Linked DNA regions of Homo sapiens: region 1 is linked to region 2. The links are contacts of gene promoters, found by promoter capture Hi-C in blood cells and fetal thymus (Javierre and others, 2016). All regions are on one chromosome and are shown on one strand. The core of a region is centred on a gene start or on the middle of the fragment in contact, and the rest is flanking DNA. Distances in the headings are between cores, read along the strand shown. Region 1 overlaps ZYX (zyxin). Region 2 holds the start of EPHB6 (EPH receptor B6).

Evidence for each region. Contacts are between HindIII fragments. The CHiCAGO score rates a contact against its expected background, and 5 or more counts as called.
Region 1: a fragment that was not itself captured here is called in contact with the fragment with the promoter of EPHB6 in region 2 in 1 of 17 cell types (naive B cells); the score reaches 5.9 in naive B cells.

Annotation. Positions count from the first base shown.
Region 1 is chr7:143,385,059-143,387,768 of GRCh38, reverse strand. All of the region lies in intron 5 of ZYX (zyxin), which reads right to left. Among named protein-coding and RNA genes, the nearest start is that of MIR6892, 3.7 kb to the right of the region's middle. The HindIII fragment of the contact is 3,543 bases long and covers 1-2,710 here.
Region 2 is chr7:142,849,825-142,856,849 of GRCh38, reverse strand. It overlaps EPHB6 (EPH receptor B6), which reads right to left and starts at 1,774. Exons shown (of 20, transcript NM_004445.6): 1 at 1,465-1,774. The HindIII fragment of the contact is 5,828 bases long and covers 1-4,833 here.

The DNA of each region.
Region 1 (2,710 bases), core at 211-2,710, 530 kb before region 2:
GCAGCCCCTGTCAGCGTGAGGATACAACACAGGCAGGAATTGCAGGTTAAACCCACTGAGCTGTCTGCAAGAACCCAGCCCCACCCCCACACAGAGACCCTGTCCCTCGAGTGAGGGGCCTCTGAACTACCTCACTCAGGTCCCTCCCCAGCAGCCTCAGAGAAGGTCCAAAGGCCACCCCCTAGGCCAGCCCAACCTTCCCATTTAGGGGATCCCGGGGACTGGAGTGGGGGGTGGATGTTAAGGACAGCGCTGCCAGTAACCCTGAGAGGTAACCCTGAGAACTCCGGGAAGGGCTGTCTGACCTGCATCAGCACTGCCGGGAGACACGCCCACAGGAGCAAGTGCACTGGGTGGGTCTTTTCTATGTCTGGAAAAGCCTACCCAGGACTGTGGCCCCATCACTGAGTGTGCTACCTGCAGATGCCTTCATTCCCATAACACCTGGAACCTCCAAAGCCCCCCTGCTACCTCCTCCCATAGCCCCTCTCCCCTCAGCCCTGGCTTCACTGCCCCTCACCCCGACCCCCATCTGTACCCAGAGTTGCGTCCTTTCTGCCCAGTGAAGCATGCGTCCATATAAGTCCAACTCTCCAGATCTTAGCCATTTTCCCTTAAGATCTTAGCCATCTTCCCTTAAGATCCTACCATCTCTTAACTGACTCGTTCCCTGGAACACTCACTTCAACTTTGTCTCCTCCAATCTTCCCTTCCTGGCCTCTTGGGGACACAGTGAAGGGGCTCAGTCAGTCCTTGCTCTCCAGTGCCATTCTAAATGCCTGGCTCCTCCTTCAGAAGCACAGAATCCTCATCTGCATCACCTCCCATGGGTATCCCCATTCATCAGGACACTCTATCCAGAACTGCCCCCTCTGCCAGCCTGCACCAATGCCACCGCTTCAAACCAAACTTCCGTCCATCTCAGTCATCATCCATCATGGGACATCCTTGACCTCAGATTTACCTCCAAGTCTCTTGCCAGCCATTATCTGCCTCTCCTCTTCCCCATCCACACCTACTACATGAACCCAGAAAAGCCTTAGTTGCCCCCACCCGCAACCCACCCCTGGACTTTGTCCACCATGCCCCAGCCTGGTCCCATGACCATCTAACTCCTACAGGGTTCACTGTCCCTCCGGGCACCTGCAGCCACCCGCAGCTATCCGGCCCAGTCTCCAACCCCAAGTCACACCACCACCCTCTTCCTGTTTCTGCTTCCAAGCTGCAGAAAGCAGTGGAGAGATCACTGAACACTGCAGCGTGAGCTCACAACACTGCAGCACCCGCGCGACCTCCAGCCCAGCCTTCCCCACAGCAGCCGTTCCAGACCTCTCCATCTCCTGAGCCCCCACCTGCTTCGTCCCTTTGCTCGCACCGTGACCTCACCTCCCACATGGTTGAGGACATGGAAGCCAGCCAGCTTAAGCTCCCTCATCGTCCTTCCTATCCACGCTGCAACCACTCTGTCCTTGCTGTCTGGTATGCCTCTGGGGGAGGAGACATCACCAAGATCTCCTCCAGGGACCGAAGCAGCCTGCCCCTGCTCTCCCACAACACTCACCCTCCATCACCTGCTTCCCCGGGTTACACACGTACCTGAGCCCTTCTCCCCTAACTTGCAAAAACCACATATGCTACACCACAGACTCAAACACACACACCCTCACACATACCCACATACCACTCACATGCACACACACATACCAGACCACACACATACACCACTCACATACACTCACACATATACCACACCACACACACACACTCACACATATACCATACCACACACACACACACCACTCACATTCAGATAATACCACACCAGGCCAGGCGCGGTGGCTCACACCTGTAATCCCAACACTTTGGGAGGCTGAGGCAGGCAGATCACTTGAGGTCAGGAGTTCGAGACCAGCCTAGCCAACATGGTGAAACCCCATCTCTACTAAAAAATACAAAAATTAGCCAGGTGTGGTGGAACGTGCCTGTAATCCCAGCTACTTGGGAGGCTGAGACAGGAGAATCGTTTGAGCCAGGGGGGCGGAGGTTGTAGTAAGCATGGGCGACAGCCTGCACTCCGTCTCCAAAAAAAAAAAAAAAAAAAAAAAAAAGATATACCACACCACACGCTCACACACACCACTCACATATATACACATACGCCACTTGTGTGTATTTGTAAGAAAGTATGTATGTGCACCTTCACTTGTGCAATCACACACCATACACATCACAGCCACACTCACACATGCACACACCTTCACTCACACATGCACACATGTACTCATATACACATACTTTCACACAATCACACTACACACATCACACGCCACTCATACATTCATGCTCACACATGCACATACACTCACATACACCATACCCACACCCACACACTAACACACACACACACGCCACTCATATATTCACATATGTGTATATATACACACACACACACCACTGACACACAGTCCTTCCCTTAGTCCTTTAAGACCAGGCTACACCAGCAGCCCCACTTCTCACCACCCACTCTCTCCTCAACTCCTCACATTGTGTTCCCACCACAGGGCACAAACAGGCCATCCCAAGACCGCTGATGATTTCCCAACAGTCTAATCTCTAGCCTTGAGTCCTCACTCCCTCAAATACCCCACTGAGGAGCTCAGCTCTCTTCTCCAAGTGCACCCTGACTCTCCTCCTGACTCTTCTTCCCGCA
Region 2 (7,025 bases), core at 525-3,024:
CTTTCCTGTGGCAGAAGATGCACATCAGTGCTGGTTCCGGAGTGGTTCCATGGGCCCTTCTTCCTCACCTTCGGCCCCTGCTCTACCCCCAGTCTGGCTGTGAGTTGCTCTTGGCCCCAGGAGGTACTTCTGCAGAAACACCTGGGCTGGGAGAGGGAGCCAAGTGGGGGGCGGGGAGGAGTGGGTAAAGAAAGGGAAACCTGAGGCTTCCCAAACCCTCCAGAACCTGCCATCCTCCTTCTACCTAGAGTGGGAACTCAGGGTCTAGGGCCCAGGCTCAGGACAGAGTGATAGCAGAACAGCCGTCCCAGAAGGAGGATCCTGCCTTTCCCATGCTCAGCCCACCCCAGCCTGTTGCTCCCCAGCATTCTGGTAACTCAGTGTCATTGCCAACCATCTTTTTGCACCCTGAATGGAGTAATAGACTCCAAACAAGTCCTCCTTCTGAGGCCACCAGGTAAGTACATAGACACCCCCACGCTAATCTTCCTTTGAGAAAAAAGGCCCACTGCTCTGAAAAGCCAAGTGGCCCCACTGAGCAGCACTCAGAAGCCTCAATGCTCCAATGCCCCTTACTTGGGCAGCTTCTGTGGTCTACTAACAGCCCCACACAGCTCCCTCCCACTGGTCTCTCAGCTCAGGACCAGCATCTCCCCTCCTAGAGCCTCAGTCAAGTTCCCCTGGCGGGCGGAGGGCCTGGGTTAACTGGGAACAGACCCAGCAGCTCCGCTCCATGGGCGCTGCCAGGGACATTACAACATTGCTATGCTGGGTCCATGCCAGCTCCCCCAGGGATGGGAGGAGAGAGGGTGCCAGACGGCCAAGATCGGTGGGTGGGGGTGTGGGGCAAGCAGGGCCAAGCACCCAGATGGAGGGAGCAGAGCGAGGGTGGAGCTGGGGCAGGAGCACGCAATAGAATTTGGTTGCACGTTGGGGGTGATGGCTGGGCAGCAGGAACCAAGCGTTCCTTCCACCTCCAAGGCTTAACTGTGGTCATGGAGCTGGGGGGGACAGTGCCTTGTGGGGAGCAGGGGACAGGTGTGTGGTCAGCCTCCTGACTCCTCCCAGCTCCAAGGGGATTGGAGTGATGCCACTGGAGTCAGAGGGGTGGCAATCCTGTTCCAAGCGTGGAGCTCCGTCTCTGCGAGGACCCTCCCAGATTAGGACTCCCAAGCCAGAGCCAGAGGAGAATGTCTGGGAACGCAACTGGGGGATCCTAACAGCAAGGGTAATGCGGTGTCAATGATGCCAGGTCAGAGTGGAGTGAGAGGGGAGTAGCCAGGTTGACCGTTTCCTCACCCTTCATGAACCCCACTCTGGCCTTGAGGAAGGATCCTCAGTACTCCCTCAGGAAGCCACCTAGGGGCTGAGGAGCCCCACTACTCTTGCAAACCTTAATTCCTCTGTCCCCAAGCATACTGTCCCCGACCCCCACAACGCCGCCTGCTAACCCCGCGGGCTCACCTTCCCGTTGGCCGCAGTCTCTGCAGGTCTGCGCCCCCCGAGGCCTCGCAGTGGACCCGGGGCTCCTGGAGCTCGCACGGTGCCACCCGCGTCTTCTCCAGTCCGGGGACCCCGTTGCACCCGGCCCGGGTCCGTTCGGCGCCGAGAGTCCCTGGGATTCCGGGGTGGACCTGACGCTGGCGGCAGGGGCTGCTCCAGAGGTGGGGCGCCGGGAGATCCTGGGGGCCCGCGTCGAGATCGCCGTCGCCAAGCTGGGTCCCGGGTCCCGCCGCCCGCTGCTGTAGAGCCGCGGCTGGAGCGAACGCAGCCCGGCCCGCCCCCTCCGCGTCCCCTCCCAAGCCGGCCCGGCCCGCCCCTTCAGCCCCTTTGGCCGCCTTCCCACTCCCTTCTTCCGGGGAGCCGAGCCCGCCCTCCCGGCCTAGGCGGTGAGTGCGCGGCGCCCGCTCCTCCGCCCCGGCGCGCGGGGGAGACGCGGGGCGCGCCCGGGGCCCCGCCTGTGCGCCGGGAAGGGGGCGGCCTCCTCCCGCGGGTCTTGGCCGGGAGGATCGCACGCGTGGGGCGCCTGCAGGAAGTGGGAAGGGAAGAGGCTGTCTGTAAAGCCCCTGCCTGGGCTCGGGCTCGGGCTCGGCTTGGGTCGGACACCCGCGGAGCGAAGCGCAACTGGCGGACCGTGGCAGTTCAGGGCAGGGCAGAGCCCTGCACACACCCCCTCGCGCCTCCCTCCTCTTCGGCTTTAACTCTAGGAACTAAAACAGTGGGGCTCCTACTCAGCTTGGAACTAAGGTGGGCGTGAGCTGAGCAAGAGAGAAGGAAGGAAAAGCAGGGGGTGGAGGGAAAGACAAACTGAGAAATCTGGGAGAGTACGGGCGGTGGTAGGGGGAGCCGAGGCAGCGGGAGAGGGGGGCGTCTCGGTATGAAAGCGTCGCCGTGCTAGCCGGGAACTCTTTTCTCTTTTCGTGTCTGGATCTTGGTCAACGTTGGGGCTTCTGAGTCGAACCTCCCTCCATCTACCCTCCCCAAGGGGCAGGGCAGTCGGGTTGAAAAGGGGAAGCGCTGCTGTACGCCTGGCTCTGACATGGCTTGGGCAAGTCGCTGCACCTCTGGGTGCCTCCTCCCTCGCCCGCGCTCCGGAGAGAACCTCCCTGCAGTGAGGAGGGGCGGTGCAAGGTGCTCTCAGCTGGCGCCTGGAGGCAGGGTTGAGGAACCGAGGGGGCGCCGCGAGGAAAAGTGTTTCCGCCCACCTCTAACCCCTTCTCTAGCCGAGGACGGGGATTTGGGGTCTATTGTTTGGGTCCTACAGAGCTGGGCTGGGGCCTTGCCACGAAGTGTTGCTACCACCTGCTGGTTTTTCTAGGGAGCACAAGCACCCGGTGCGATTCCCTTTGCCCCCTTTTCTCCCTGTATCGCCCTGTCCCATCTTGCTCTCCTGTTTATTAAAGCAAATGGGCTGATCAAAACTGGTACTTAAAGAGCATTCAGAAGCCGAAGAAAATTGTGAAAGAGATCTATGAGCCAACAAACACAATAAACAAAACAATGAAACTCAGTAAGAGTCACCTGGGAGAGACAAACAGGCTTTAATGAATTGACTGAATGAGTGATAGAAAGATAAAGGCTACCGAGCAAGTTCCCACTTGGCCAGGGGTTTGTTCACTCTTAATATCAGGAGTCAATAAATAAGTCTGATAGTATTTAATGACTGCATTTGGACGTCATTAATAATTCCACTTGTACTGACGGTTCTACTTTATCTTGTTTCTTCCCTTTGCCCTGAAACTCAGTGGTGGAGGGCTTCCTTCATTTTCTGGTTATCTCCAAGGCTTTCAAAGACTTCTGCAAAGAAACAGAATTTGCATTGTGTGTGGAATTACGTAACTCATACATTAACATGCCTGATTGCTAGACATCTATGGTTATATTGAAAACTTAAAAAAAAGACACATAACTAGATTATGTTAAAATAAAAATATGGACAAAACCAAACCGTAGTTGTTACTTTATAAAACCCAGAAATTCCTGTAGTAATTTGCAACGTATCCTGTATTGACATAACAGTAAAAATATCTGCCTTCTTTTCTATTTCATGATATACCTCATATTAGGTGACTATAATATGAAATGAAGTTTTTGCTGCTCAAGGCTTGTGTAATTAGTTATATTTGTCTTGTTAATAAAATTTGAGAGGCATCTAGTTTTCAAAGGAAGTGTCATACTCAGGATGCAAAGAGGTTTAAATTTGTGATTAGTCGGCTTTGCATCCTAATTGCCTATGTCTTATCAAACCAAGTTTTAATGGTAGGTGGAGAGCATAGAATGCATTGTTAAAGTATGCTGCAACCTGCAGCTATTAAAAAGCAAAGTAATGAATTCCTTTTTAAAGTTTAATGTAAATTTTTTGCTATAATTTGTTTGGTGCCTGGGACACTCCAGGTGCTTAGAAGTGTTATAGAATGAATCAATAAAAAATAATATTTAAACTTTTTCTATGTGGATGGGCACAGTGGCTTATGCCTGTAATCCCAGCACTTTGGGAGGCTGAGGTGAGAGGATCACTTGAGGTCAGGAGTTTGAGATCAGCCTGGCCAACATGGTGAAACCTCATCTCTACCAAACAATACAAAAATTAGCCAGGCATGGTGATGCATGCCTATAGTCCCAGACACTCAGGAGGCCAAGGTGGGAGAATCGCTTGAACCCGGGAGGCGGAGGTTGCAGTGAGCCAAGATTGTCCTACTGCACTCCAGCCTGGGCGACAGAGTGAGACCCTGTTTCTTTCTATATATATATGTGTGTATATATATATATTTTTTTTTTTTGACTTGTTCAAAAAAAAAACCCTGGAGTATTGCTAATGGGCAGGACCTAATAAAGTTTATGGCTCACAGAATTAATCATTTCTGGCACACAACAATCTATTATGTAAATTTGGAACCAAAAGGAACTGCTGAGTAGAAAACTCCAGGTGAGATAGGAAGGCTCCTAGATTGGTTCTGCCTCATTTTTTCTGAGTTTTTGCCTCCTTCTTGGGCTTTGCTCACTCCCCTAGGATGTGCAATTTTCTTCTTCCTTATTTCCCCTTAGAACAGCTAATGTAAGCTGATGTTGTCATAAACAAAGAGCTTTACAAATAATTTCACTGATAAGAATTCTAGTAAAAAGCCATAAAGGAGTCTTCTGAGTCCCCTATCTCTTATTCCAAAACATTAGTTATAGCTCCCAATGCATGACCTCACAGGGCTCAGGCCCTTCACTGAACTGTCTTGAGGCTTTGTGGCCTCTAGGTGCAGTTGCACTTCCTAAAAGCTGGAGTCTAGTCTCCAAACACTTTACCAATGGAAGTGTTAAATGCCCATTTGTACAACTAAAGCTTTTATTGTTTTCTGTTCAGAAACTTCTAGAATGTTCAAAAATTCTCCTATGTTACTGGTTTGTTTGAAAGTCAAACCTAGATTGCAACTGATTTGTAGACCAAGGGTAATGGATACCCTTCATGGTGGTATTAAAGTTTACCCATCATAGTCCTACACTTTGATATTACTTTAACCATGCAATAATAACAAGGTATTCAGAGATATTAGTGCCTCCAAGAGAAAGAGGATGGCTTTTCTCTCAGTTAGGGGTTGACTTCAGCTATATGTAACAGCAAAGTTGTACAACAGTGGTTTAAACAAATTAGATAACACAGAAATACGATGAAGGTCCCAAGTCAACAAGACTCCAACTTTAGGATGAGGACTTGTTCTCAGATTGTCAACATTTTAGCCAGAGCTCCAGCTATGAGGTCTACAAATTTCAGGCAAGAAAAAGAAGGGAACAGGATTAAAACGCTACATCCAGCTGAATTAGCACTGTTCAAAGAACCTTTCTGGAAGATCCATTCAGTGACTTCATATGTATTATTGGCCAGGACAGTGTCACGTGACCACCCCTACCTGCTTGAAACCTGCAAAATACATGCTGCACAAAATGAAATTAAAGCTGTTAAACCTAAGAGAGGAAGAAAGAAAGCGTGTTAGCCAGGGGAACAGCAGCCTCTGCCACAAATGAAATAAAATGATCACGGTAATCTACATTTTTCCCTGCAATCAACAGAGATCTCTATCTCCTTTTTATAGGATATACTTGCTGGTACTTTCCCCCAGACCACTGTCTTTACATAGGTTTAATGCTCAAAGATGGTCCCCAGGAAGTTAGTGGAGTGAAGGGAAATGCTAGGAGTGTCCTCTTTCTAAAATAACCATGACATGATCTCAAAAGAAAAATAACAAATCCTTTGCAGTTACCCATACAAACAATAGGACTTGAAAACATTCTAGATTTTAATAAGATTTTGGGCAGGGCAGTCCTCATATGCAGAGCAGAAGTGATCAACACTCCACACCATTCTTTGCTCCTTTCCTGGTTTGTATCTTTTCCATTCAGGTGCATATAGGAGATGGGATGATCTATGATGTGGAGCAGATGGTCCCCTGGTCGGCTCTTCCAGTAGAATGCAGTCTATTTCTGGAGCTGCGCCTCCAGATAGTGCTCTCTGAAAACATTTGCATTTCCTAAACTGAAAGGGTGGCCTGCATTTCTATGAGATCTGCCTTCTACTTGTAGATGTGGCTGACACATTTCCTGGTTCCCATATTCTCTTGTCTTATAGTATACGTCTCTCTCTACATTCAAATGGATTCTGAGAATCTATCCCATCAGAACTTAAAGCACCACCGACAAAGTGGAGCTAGTCAACATGAAGAATGAGTAAACAGCAACGACAGCACTTGAGATCTTTTAACAATCTGAAGCAAAGTAGAAAAGGAATGAAGATGTAAGAGTTCAAAGAAAAAGTCTTCACTTTATATTCTTAATGAGTTAAAAGCAGATGTGGAAGCTATATTAAAAGGTTGAGATAAAAAGGGACAGTGGCGGGGGGAAGACAAACATAACAGTCAGGCAGGGCGTGGTGGCTCACGCCTGTAATCCCAGCGCTTTGGGAGGCTGAGGAGGGTGGATCACCTGAAGCCAGGAGTTTGAGACCAGCCTGGCCAACATGGTGAAACCCTGTCTCTACTAAAAATATGAAAATTAGCCAGGGAATCCTAAACTTAAATTTAGAATTCCCGGTATAATCAAATTCCCCGGCACGGCCTCTTCTCCTCTGTCTTACTTTGAAATAAACATAAACATTGCATTGGTTTTCTATCAATGCCAGAAAAAATCTTAGTGGTTGAAAACAACACATAATTATTATCTTACAGTTCCAAAGATCAGAAGTCGGAAGTGGACCTCCGTGGGCTAAAATCCAGGTATTGATAGGGCTGTGTTCCTTTTGGAGTCACTAAGGAGGGTCTGTTTCCTCACTTTTCCCAGTGTGGTTCTTGGAAGCCACTGTATTCCTTAGTTTGAGGTCTTCTCCTTTATCTTCAAATCCAGCAACATCTGGAGTGCAGTGGAGCAGTCTCGGCTCACTGCAAGCTCCGCCTCCCGGGTTCACGCCATTCTCCTGCCTCAGCCTCCCGACTAGCTGGGACTATAGGCGCCCGCTACCATGCCCGGCTAATTTTTTGTATTTTTAG